3 separate regions of the Homo sapiens genome follow, and all the other regions are linked to region 3. The links are contacts of gene promoters, found by promoter capture Hi-C in blood cells and fetal thymus (Javierre and others, 2016). All regions are on one chromosome and are shown on one strand. Each heading gives the region's core, a stretch centred on a gene start or on the middle of the fragment in contact. The rest is flanking DNA. Distances are from core to core; before and after follow the strand shown.

Region 1 (3,305 bases), core at 656-3,155, 1.0 Mb after region 3:
TTACTTATAATAATCAGTTGTCTTCATTTCATTTATCCAAGCTTGTTAACTTCTTCCCATGAAATATATCACTACAGGACTATTCATTGTTCTTTACCTTTGCTTTTGCTTTCATTGTGTTTGGTATGGTAAGAAGGATTTACCTTATTGGATATAATTGTACAGATTTGTATTGGACCATTTACAGCTCTTATCAGAACCTATGTGCCCTAGCAGCAAACTGAGCAACTAGCAAGGGCTAAGAAATGTTTTATGATTATTTGTCAATTTTTAAATCACTGATGGTATTTAGGTATCTTTTCTTACAGTCTTTCTATGCATGTGTGTGTGTGTGTGTGTGTGCGTGTGTGTGTGTGATGTTTTTATAATCTGAGCGTTTCCTGATATTCTCAAATATTTCAAGGACATAATTTTAAAAGAGATGCATATGGCTATATCAACATTTATTTAATCATTTCTTTATTGTTGAACATTTAAATTATTTCTGTTTCTCTGCTTTTATAACAAATTGAAAAACCTCTGTAATTCCTTAACGTTTGTGGGCCTCCCTGACTGTTTCTGTGGGATAAATTCTTAAAAAGAGAATTACTTGGTCAAATATTAAGAATATTCTTAAAGCTATTGCAACAGATGTTTAAATGCCCGCAAAAAGGTTGTACCAATTTATGTCCCTTGGTATTTGATGGTTTTTGCTATAATATGGTGTAAAATTTTGTCGTTGAAGCCCCTGGTATGTTTGTCTCCTTAACGATGTTCTTCTCAGAATAAGCAGGTGAGAATCACCTTTGGGTTCTCTTGCAAGAATAGTAACCAGTTTGGAATAATGATGTATCATAACAACCGACTCATAAAATCTTTTGAGAAGGTGGGGTGCCAGGTGAAGGTGAGTAGTTAATATTTCTTTGTCATAGGAGGCTGAAAAGAGTAGGAAGAGAATTTAAAATTTGCAAAGGGGATAGGCTCATTAATGGCTTTTACTCCCATCTTATGATGCTTATTGAATTCTGATCCTGGAATTGTGTTACCAGTGAGCTGTCTTGTGTTGAAATCTCTTTCTAACTCTCATTCTTCAGCTGTTAATCAACCCAACAACTTTACTGAATGCATTTTCTAAGTAGCTGTCAATAAGAGGCAGAATTAGAATACCAGCAAGCTTACCATGTGTGTCAGCTTATTTGTGTTTTAGGTAACTCCATTTTCTTGGAGAGACAATAAGGCATAGTGGAAGGCATATAAAATATGGTGGTTGAAGACCAGGATTTGGGTCCTGAATTTTCCATTTACAAGCTGTGTAACCTTGGATAAATTGTTTAATTTATCTGAAGCTCAATTTCCTGACCTTTATGTAAAGTGGAAACAACAATAATAAGCATACCTGCTTTGCCTGCCTCACAGCTTACAGGGTTGAGAGATTTAAATGGGATAAATTATGTGAAAATATTTTTTAAACCACTCTATACAAATTTTACCATCATCTTTAATGTCTTAATGATTATTTAAAGTAGTAATGTCTACAAGTATCCCTTTTATTCCTATTTTACAGATAAGATTGCTAAAGCACAAAAAATGATGAACTGCTTCAACATAGTAAGACAGTTATATAAAGCCCAGGATAGCTCGTTTTCAGCCTATTTTGTTTTCCCTTGTTATAGCACCTTTAGACAACTCGTGTTTGTGTTCCAGTCCAATTACACCTTTACTTAGTTTCTTCCATTAAAGAATTAGAATATGATTTAAATCTATAAAACTCTTGCGTCAACTTGTAATTAATAATTGCTGTAAGTGTGACTCTTTAGTAGTTGTTTGGTGGCCTATGTATGTGGGAAAATTGTTTATTTTAATATAGGATCACACAGAACCCTTAAAATTGTTTTCAGATGAATATTTGTTTCAGTTCCTTAGAACAGTAGTATATAACCTTGGTTTTTTAGCACGGTAATTCTTTATTCAAATGCAGTCTTATGGCAGTCCTGGAATATAAAGCAGATAAAAGTGGAGGTAGTGTGGGTGAAGTAGAGATGGCTACTAATTGCAGAAGACTCCTAGGGATCTATGGATCATATTTTGAAAATCTCTGCCCTAGAATTTGTCAGAATTTCTAGTTCAGTTTAATGCTTGCAGTCTGTTGATGTACATTCTAAGTGTTTCTCTAGATCTTGATGGTCTTTTCTTGCCCATGAAGGTTATGTAACCTTTCTATTATTGTTTGGAATCAAAAGGAAATGCCTCCAGGCAGCCAACAGTAATGTAAGTGTTGAAATTAATATTTTCTTCTAAGCCAACTCGTGGAGAAGGTGTAGGAGTAATTGGAGTCATTGAGTGCAATTTCCTAAAACCTGCCTACAACAAACAAGACTTTGAGTATACCAAGGAGTACCGGTGAGTCACTCCCAACCTGAGGTGCTTCCGTTAGTTTGTTCAGATATGATTCTGTTCTCTAAAGCCTCTAAAACCATCTCTAAAAAGCAGCTAAATAAGTTAACTGAGAATTACTTCAAATTTGTTTTCCAAGATTAGAGATAAAATGCTTTCATTTTTAAATTAAAGTTTGCTGAATGATATATGGAGTCTCGTTGAGATAAACCTTACCTTTAGAAATTATGCAAAGAGCATAGGAGTAATTTGGTAAAAGATTTCTGGGGAAATGAAAAGCTTTGGAATTGATCTTAATGGAAACAGATGAATGGATCTGAAGTTATGGAATACATTGGATAAAAAAAAGCAGTTTGAAATTTGTTCCAAAAATTTTTCTTGAAGCCAGTGAACAGATTTAGAGCAAAGTGATGGAACAGCAGGAAAGACATGTGCTTTCATTAAAGCATCTAGATTTAATAGGGCAGGCAAACAGGTAAGAATCTGAAAGGAACTCGACATTATGGCTGAACCAGTAGGGATATTTTTCGAAAGGAGTTTTTAAAGCCAGGTTAGAATAGTTTGTTTAAAAAATGTCGAGAGGGAGATGGGTCTTTATTTCATTAAGTATTATGAGACAGCTTCTATGTGCCAGGTACTAAGGATGAAAAATAAGACTCTTTGATACCTATGAACAAATATGTATGCAAATAAGAAACTTAAATACTTATAAAATAATTGCTTTAATAGGGGGTATGTGCAAAGTGGGGAGAACTTTAAATATGCTTAAGGGAGTCAGGGAAGGCTTCACAAAGCAGATTATATTTGATATTAAATATGAAGGAAAAGTTTTCTAGGTGGACAATAGAGGAAGGACATTCTAAGCAGAGGGAAGTATCTGTAAGGGCAAAAAAGGGTAAGAGGTATTCTGGGAGTATGGAGAAAGAAGGCAT
Region 2 (3,234 bases), core at 138-2,637, 1.1 Mb after region 3:
TTTAAAAATGCATGTAAAGTTAATGTCTTGACAGAGCAGGTGCTTAATAAATGATAGCGTTTATTGTGCTTCCTTTTTAAAATATTTAATATCCCTGCTTCCTTGTCCCATTTTTCTGAATAATTTGTAGTATTTCGCAGGTTTGGCAGTTTGTCTAAAGTTAATTTCCACTCTAATGACAACAACAACAATTCAACATTATACCAACAATCAAATGATATGTGATTCTTATATACAAACTACTTATCATTAAATTGACTACTAACAGGAAGGAAACTTGTGGGCCCATATGTTACACAGAATCTCTTCCATAGAAGATCACTGTATCTATATCAGCAAAAAGTAGTCATAATATAATTTGAGGGCCACAGTGAAGCAACGATCTTATATCATGTTGAAAATTAGTTTAGTTGTTAAAAAAATCTGTAATTATACTTGCTAAAATGGAATAAATTCCTGCTGTACATCGTTAAAGACTGGTAAACTCTTACCTGGAGGAATATGTAGCTTAAAAAGCAGCTTAAGCTTCTCAGTAAAACTTCCATTGTACATTATGTCTGTTCAATAAAATTCAATTGTAAATAATCATGTATCTAAAGAACATTCAATCAATTTCAGCAACAAAGATTAATTAAGATATAGACATTAGTCAAAAATTAGGATTTAGAAACCTGTTACTTAAGCTAACAATTAAACAACCACCTAGTCAATCAGATGCTCTCCTTCAAGTGTATAACTGTATAAGCAAAATACTCTTTATCAAAAAAGTAAAATGTTCTCTTTCCTAGCTCCTTCCCCCCAATCTCAGATTTCTCTTTTCTTTTGAATGAGGCCTGTGCAGGAGAGAACTGTTCTTCAAGGGGTGATCCCTGATAAGAAAGCATGCTGGGGTATCTGGAAAAGCAAATGAACAATATCTACAGGTACAACATCTTGACTATCTGTAGGTACAACATGTTTGCTGGGTATTTATCTACCACTCTTCTAGGCTATGTGGTTGAATTTTTACGGGGAGGTCGGTGGGGTGGGGGAAGTCCTTCGGTAGTACCCATGCATCTGAGTGTGGGAAAATTGGGACGTTATCTTCCTTATGTTAACCCTTAAAACACTCACATCTAACAGCTTGCTTTTCTGAAAGGGTTGGGGAAAATAATATCAAAATACTTAGATTTAGCAACAAATGCAGAAAAGGGTCCATTTATTACTAAAGCTAAACACACTGTAACCCATGGTGATATAATCTGACTAAATTGGCAATAATAGGCAGTACTAAGTATTTCTAGGAGCACCTTTTTTTTTTGCTTAAAAAAATCATCTTACCAATTGCAGAGGAGAATTCTTTGAAGTTTATAAGGCAATCAGAGTTTTCATCTAACAATCTGAATGTCCATAAAGCTAGTGAGTCTTTATTTGCAGAATGAGCCCAGGGACTCAACAAGTGATACAACGCTCTGAACTGCTGGCAGTCAATCTGATACTGTTCCAAATATGGCAGACTGGGGTCATGATGCTTCAATACTGGGCAACCCAAACACCAATAACAAGATAAAAACAGCTCTTTCTATTAAAAATAAATAAAAAAGGAAAGTTACTAATTAGAAAAAGTAATTTTGGAAGATTTTAAAAACCATGTCTGCTAAAATAAAGATAAAAATAATTAGAATGGCTGTGATACAATTCTGCTAAAAAAAAGCATTATTTTTCATTTAAAGAAGAACAACAGTACCTTAAAGATGACATAAAGTTCATCCAATTCTTGAAGGCTCAATTTCACATCTTGTGATACAACACGCAACTTTAAAAAGATTAAAAGCAATTTAGTACACAGATTTTAACATTGCAGTAAAGAAATTCTCTTTGAATTACCTTAGAGTCTCTCTCTGCTAGAAGAAAATATTTGTGTTTTAACTTCTTAAATGAATAATAAAAAGTTATTATAAGTTATTATATTATAAAGTTATTATCTATTTTTCCTTTTAAAAAGTAGTAGTAGACTAGTTCAATTCTACTCTAATATGTACTTTGATATTCATCTCTTCATACTCAGAAATCACTGCCAAAGAACAGCCACTTAATGTCTATAAATATAAGTAACAGTATTCTAAGTCCTATTCCATATATTCCTCTCTTGCCACATAAGCAGCATATCTAGTCATCATGTGAGGTTGCTATTAAATACTTCAAAGGCATTGGGAGATGTACATTCCCTCTCTATGCCAAAAAACATAATCCAAGAAGTAATAAGCTTAGAAAATATGTACTTTTATCCTATTCCATGAAGAAGAAGGACTAATGATACAATCATTATGATATCTAAGAAATTTGAAAGCAAAGGTAAAGAAAAAAGCTAGAATTGATGAAATACAGAAAATTAAAAAAACCCGGTAGACTCAGTAAATAAAATTAAGAGTTGGTTTATTGAAAAAATCAATAAGATAGACACATTTCTGGCAAGTGAGATGAAAGAAATCACAAATGACTATCATCGAGAAGTGGATAATTTAAGCATGGATACAGAAGTCATTTAAAGTGCCCAGCAGAGGAATGGTGGCTCATGCCTGTAATCCCAGCACTTGGGAGGCCAAGGCAGGCAGATCACTTGAGGCCAGGAGTTCAAGACCAGCCTGGCCAACTTGGTGAAACCCTGTCTCTACTAAAAATACAAAAATTAGCCAGGTGTGGTGGCGTATGCCTATAATCGCAGCTACTCAGGAGACTGAGGCACAAGAATCACTTGAACCCGGGAGGCAGAGGTTGCAGTGAGCCGAGATCATGCCACTGTATTCCAGCCTGGGCGACAGAGTGAGACTGTCTCAAAAAAAAAAAAAAAAAAAAAAAAAAGGTGCCCAGCATGGGAGGGGCCAATATGACAAACTAGAAGCAGATCATGGGTGCTGCTCTCTTATGGAGGGGAAACAAAGGGTTTAGTGAACACTGACCCTAAAAGCCAATCATCTAAGAAACCACACTGGGAACCATCAAAGCAGCAAGGGGACACAGAGAGCAGAGAGGAGGGAAGCTGGGCAGCAGCCTATCTGGCATCAATGCGGAGTCAGGAGAAGCTCCCCAATACGGGAGAGGGTAATTCACACTCTCCATGGGGATCTGTGTAAGGCTGGGAGTGGGAGAATTCCCCTGCCCTAACCCCCTACTTGCCACTCTCATCCTCCCACCTCACCTCTAAACTGAGGCAGAGAGCCACCCAGACGGTTTGCAGAGGCAACTCTTAAGTCC
Region 3 (3,109 bases), core at 392-2,891:
AATTACTTGCTATGGCCTATCTAAAAGACTATATAACTATTAAGAGGGATTATCACCCAGGTTGAAGGAAGGGTAGGATTATAGAAGTACTTTCCAAGCACTTAAAAATTATTTACAATGATCAGCTGTTACTGGGAGAAACATTTTTTTTCAATTTTGAAAAACATAACACGTTTATTATAAACAATTTTACAATAGAGAAAAATGTCAAGAATATTTTTTAAAGTACTGTATTCCTATTACCCAAAGATAACCACTGTTAAAGTGTTAGTATATAACTTTCCAGATTTGTGATGTATGCATACATATAGTTAGTTATATGCTCTTTGTAACAAGCGAAATTAGAGAAAAATGTATTTTAAAGTTAAAAACTTTTTTTCTAACCTCCAGTCCAACCCCACTTCCCAGAGATAATTAATGTTGAGTCTGCTATATATCCTCTCTCATTCTGTTCTCCAAGATTATAGAAACATACAAACATATGCAAACACACACATACACACAAATACGGGATCATAGAAAACATTACTCCTACAACTTTACATGCCCTTTTGTCATTGGCCATCATCATAGATCCATAGGTAGAAACAGATTCAGTTACAGTACAATGTCATGTAATACGTAGCAACGCTGGACTCAACCTGAGATTTGTCTGATTTATCTTGTGGGTCTCAGAAAGTCATTCAAGGTTTTCTTGTTTTTGTGTTTGTTTGTTTGAGACAGAGTCTCACTCTGTCACCCAGGCTACAGTGCAGTGGTGCGATCTCGGCTCACTGCAACCTCCGCCTCGTGGGTTCAAGCGATTCTCCTGCCTCAGCCTCCCGAGTAGCTGGGACTACATGCGCGTGCCACCACATCTGGCTAATTTTTTGTAATTTTAGTAGAGACGGGGTTTCACCCTGTTAGCCAGGATGGTCTCGATCTTCTGACCTCGTGATCCGCCCATCTCGGTCTCCCAAAGTACTGGGATTACAGGCATGAGCCACCGCGCCCGGCCGAAGGTTTTAAGAGACATATTCATATCCCTCTGATGGAAGATCTCTGATATTTCATGTTTTGGTAAAAAGGTGTATTTATGCTACTCCTAACTCTCTTTCTCCCACAGTTGCTTCAAGATTCAAGGCGTTTCAGTAGGGGAGGAGTGGGAGAAGGGGTGATGGGAGGAGTGTGGGGAAAGAGGAGCTAAGGGAGGAAAGGCAGGCCAGGATTTGTTAGGGTGTCTGGGATGTTTAGTCCTGAGCAAACAGGGGATAAGCTCCGCTCCTGGCTCCACCCTCTTCCTCCAAGGGCAACTGAGGGGTTGGGGCTGTTTCCTGCTCTAGAATATTCCAGTTGGGGGCGAAACTCCCCTGGCATGGCACAAACCATTATGATGGGGAGGGATAAGTCTTCAACTTGTTCACAAATACTTTTTTTGGTCCTAAGTCCTTCCGGACCACTCCTGTTTCTTTCAGCCTTCAAGGTCTCCCGACCATGTGGCAGGTTCCCTTTTGTCCCAGTGGAATGGCAGAGGCCTTCCTCACTCACTCCCTTTCACCCCTACAGTCTCTGGAAATTGGAACAGTCCCAGAGTAAAATCCTCATGGGTTGGCCCTGAGGCTTCTTTTCCCGCAGAGCCCTAGGAGGGAAAGAGGCCACCCTCTCTTCAGGCGTGTTAAGCAGCGGGGTTGGCCTGTACTTCCTCTGGCCCTGGCTGAAGAGGTGAGGCCTGGTGGGAGATGTCCTAGGGTAGGACAAGCCGGTCAGAGGGTCATTAGGAGGGTCTTGTCAGAGGTGGGAGGGCGGAGAAGACAGATGAGGGGAGGGGCTAAGGAGGAGGAAAGAAACCTATTGGCTGCTCCATCCACACAGGGCTAGTGAAACCGTTAAGCCCCTAGGCGATCATGGCCTTGAGACCTGAGGACCCCAGTAGTGGGTTCCGGCACGGAAACGTGGTGGCCTTCATCATCGAGAAAATGGCCAGGCACACGAAAGGCCCCGAGTTCTACTTCGAGAATATATCCTTATCCTGGGAGGAGGTGGAAGACAAGCTCAGGGCCATCCTGGAGGACAGCGAGGTGCCCAGCGAGGTCAAAGAGGCCTGCACCTGGGGCAGCCTGGCCTTGGGTGTGCGCTTTGCCCACAGGCAGGGGCAGTTACAAAACCGCAGGGTGCAGTGGCTGCAAGGCTTTGCCAAACTGCACAGATCAGCTGCGCTGGTCTTGGCCTCAAACCTGACGGAACTCAAGGAACAGCAGGAGATGGAATGCAATGAGGCGACCTTCCAGTTGCAGCTAACCGAGACCAGCCTTGCGGAGGTGCAGAGAGAGCGGGACATGCTGAGATGGAAGCTCTTCCATGCCGTAAGATCCCCCGAATGGTCCCTGTCCAATGCCTCTGCCCTGCCCCAACCTGTCCGGACCCCCTGCCCTGTCCCCAGAATGTGTTTCAGCTCTGCCTACTTCTCTCCAGGAGCTGGCACCTCCCCAGGGACAGGGCCAGGCTACAGTGTTTCCAGGCCTGGCCACTGCCGGAGGGGATTGGACAGAAGGAGCAGGTGAGCAGGAAAAGGAGGCGGTGGCTGCTGCTGGTGCTGCTGGAGGAAAAGGAGAGGAGAGGTATGCAGAGGCAGGGCCTGCCCCCGCAGAGGTCTTGCAGGGGCTGGGAGGAGGCTTCAGGCAGCCCCTCGGAGCTATTGTAGCAGGCAAATTACACCTTTGCGGGGCAGAGGGAGAAAGATCTCAGGTCAGTACAAACAGCCATGTCTGTCTTCTCTGGGCTTGGGTCCACAGTCTCACTGGAGCCTCTTCCTGTCCAGCTCCCTACCTCATTCACATACTCATACCCATGCCCTTTGTCCGCCTTCTCAGCCATACCCAATATACCCCCTTCACCAGCAAAGGTCACAGAACGGGTTCCAACTCAGATGCCTTTCAACTGGGGGGCCTCTGATGCTAGCCTGTGGTCAGATGTGGAGGCCCAGGGAATAGACCCTCAAGAGCCCCCAAGAGACAGGAGAGACTCCGAACTCCATCAGCAGAGAAGACCTCCAGTATATCGCAGGCCAGGGAACTGGGACTGCCCGTGGTGTAAAGCTGTGAATTTTTCATGGAGGGAAAATTGCTTCCTC

Evidence for each region. The method cuts DNA at HindIII sites, captures the fragments that hold promoters and counts their contacts. A CHiCAGO score of 5 or more calls a contact.
Region 1: a contact is called between a fragment that was not itself captured here and the fragment with the promoter of TEX13B in region 3, in 2 of 17 cell types (total CD4 T cells and naive CD8 T cells). The highest score is 6.3, in total CD4 T cells.
Region 2: a fragment that was not itself captured here is called in contact with the fragment with the promoter of TEX13B in region 3 in 3 of 17 cell types (total B cells, non-activated CD4 T cells and activated CD4 T cells); the score reaches 8.4 in total B cells.

Annotation. Positions count from the first base shown.
Region 1 is chrX:106,975,658-106,978,962 of GRCh38, reverse strand. It overlaps MORC4 (MORC family CW-type zinc finger 4), which reads left to right. Exons shown (of 17, transcript NM_024657.5): 8 at 764-883; 9 at 2,279-2,379. Among named protein-coding and RNA genes, the nearest start is that of MORC4, 23 kb to the left of the region's middle. The HindIII fragment of the contact is 1,499 bases long and covers 1,156-2,654 here.
Region 2 is chrX:106,864,120-106,867,353 of GRCh38, reverse strand. It overlaps TBC1D8B (TBC1 domain family member 8B), which reads right to left. Exons shown (of 21, transcript NM_017752.3): 15 at 1,727-1,795; 16 at 1,321-1,561; 17 at 492-557. Among named protein-coding and RNA genes, the nearest start is that of RIPPLY1, 38 kb to the left of the region's middle. The HindIII fragment of the contact is 1,720 bases long and covers 528-2,247 here.
Region 3 is chrX:107,980,902-107,984,010 of GRCh38, reverse strand. TEX13B (testis expressed 13B) reads left to right here and starts at 1,641. Exons shown (of 3, transcript NM_031273.2): 1 at 1,641-1,701; 2 at 1,852-2,342; 3 at 2,452-3,109. The coding sequence starts at 1,884. The coding sequence ends at 2,931. It also overlaps the pseudogene LOC112267910 and the pseudogene NLRP3P1. The HindIII fragment of the contact is 6,409 bases long and covers 1-3,109 here.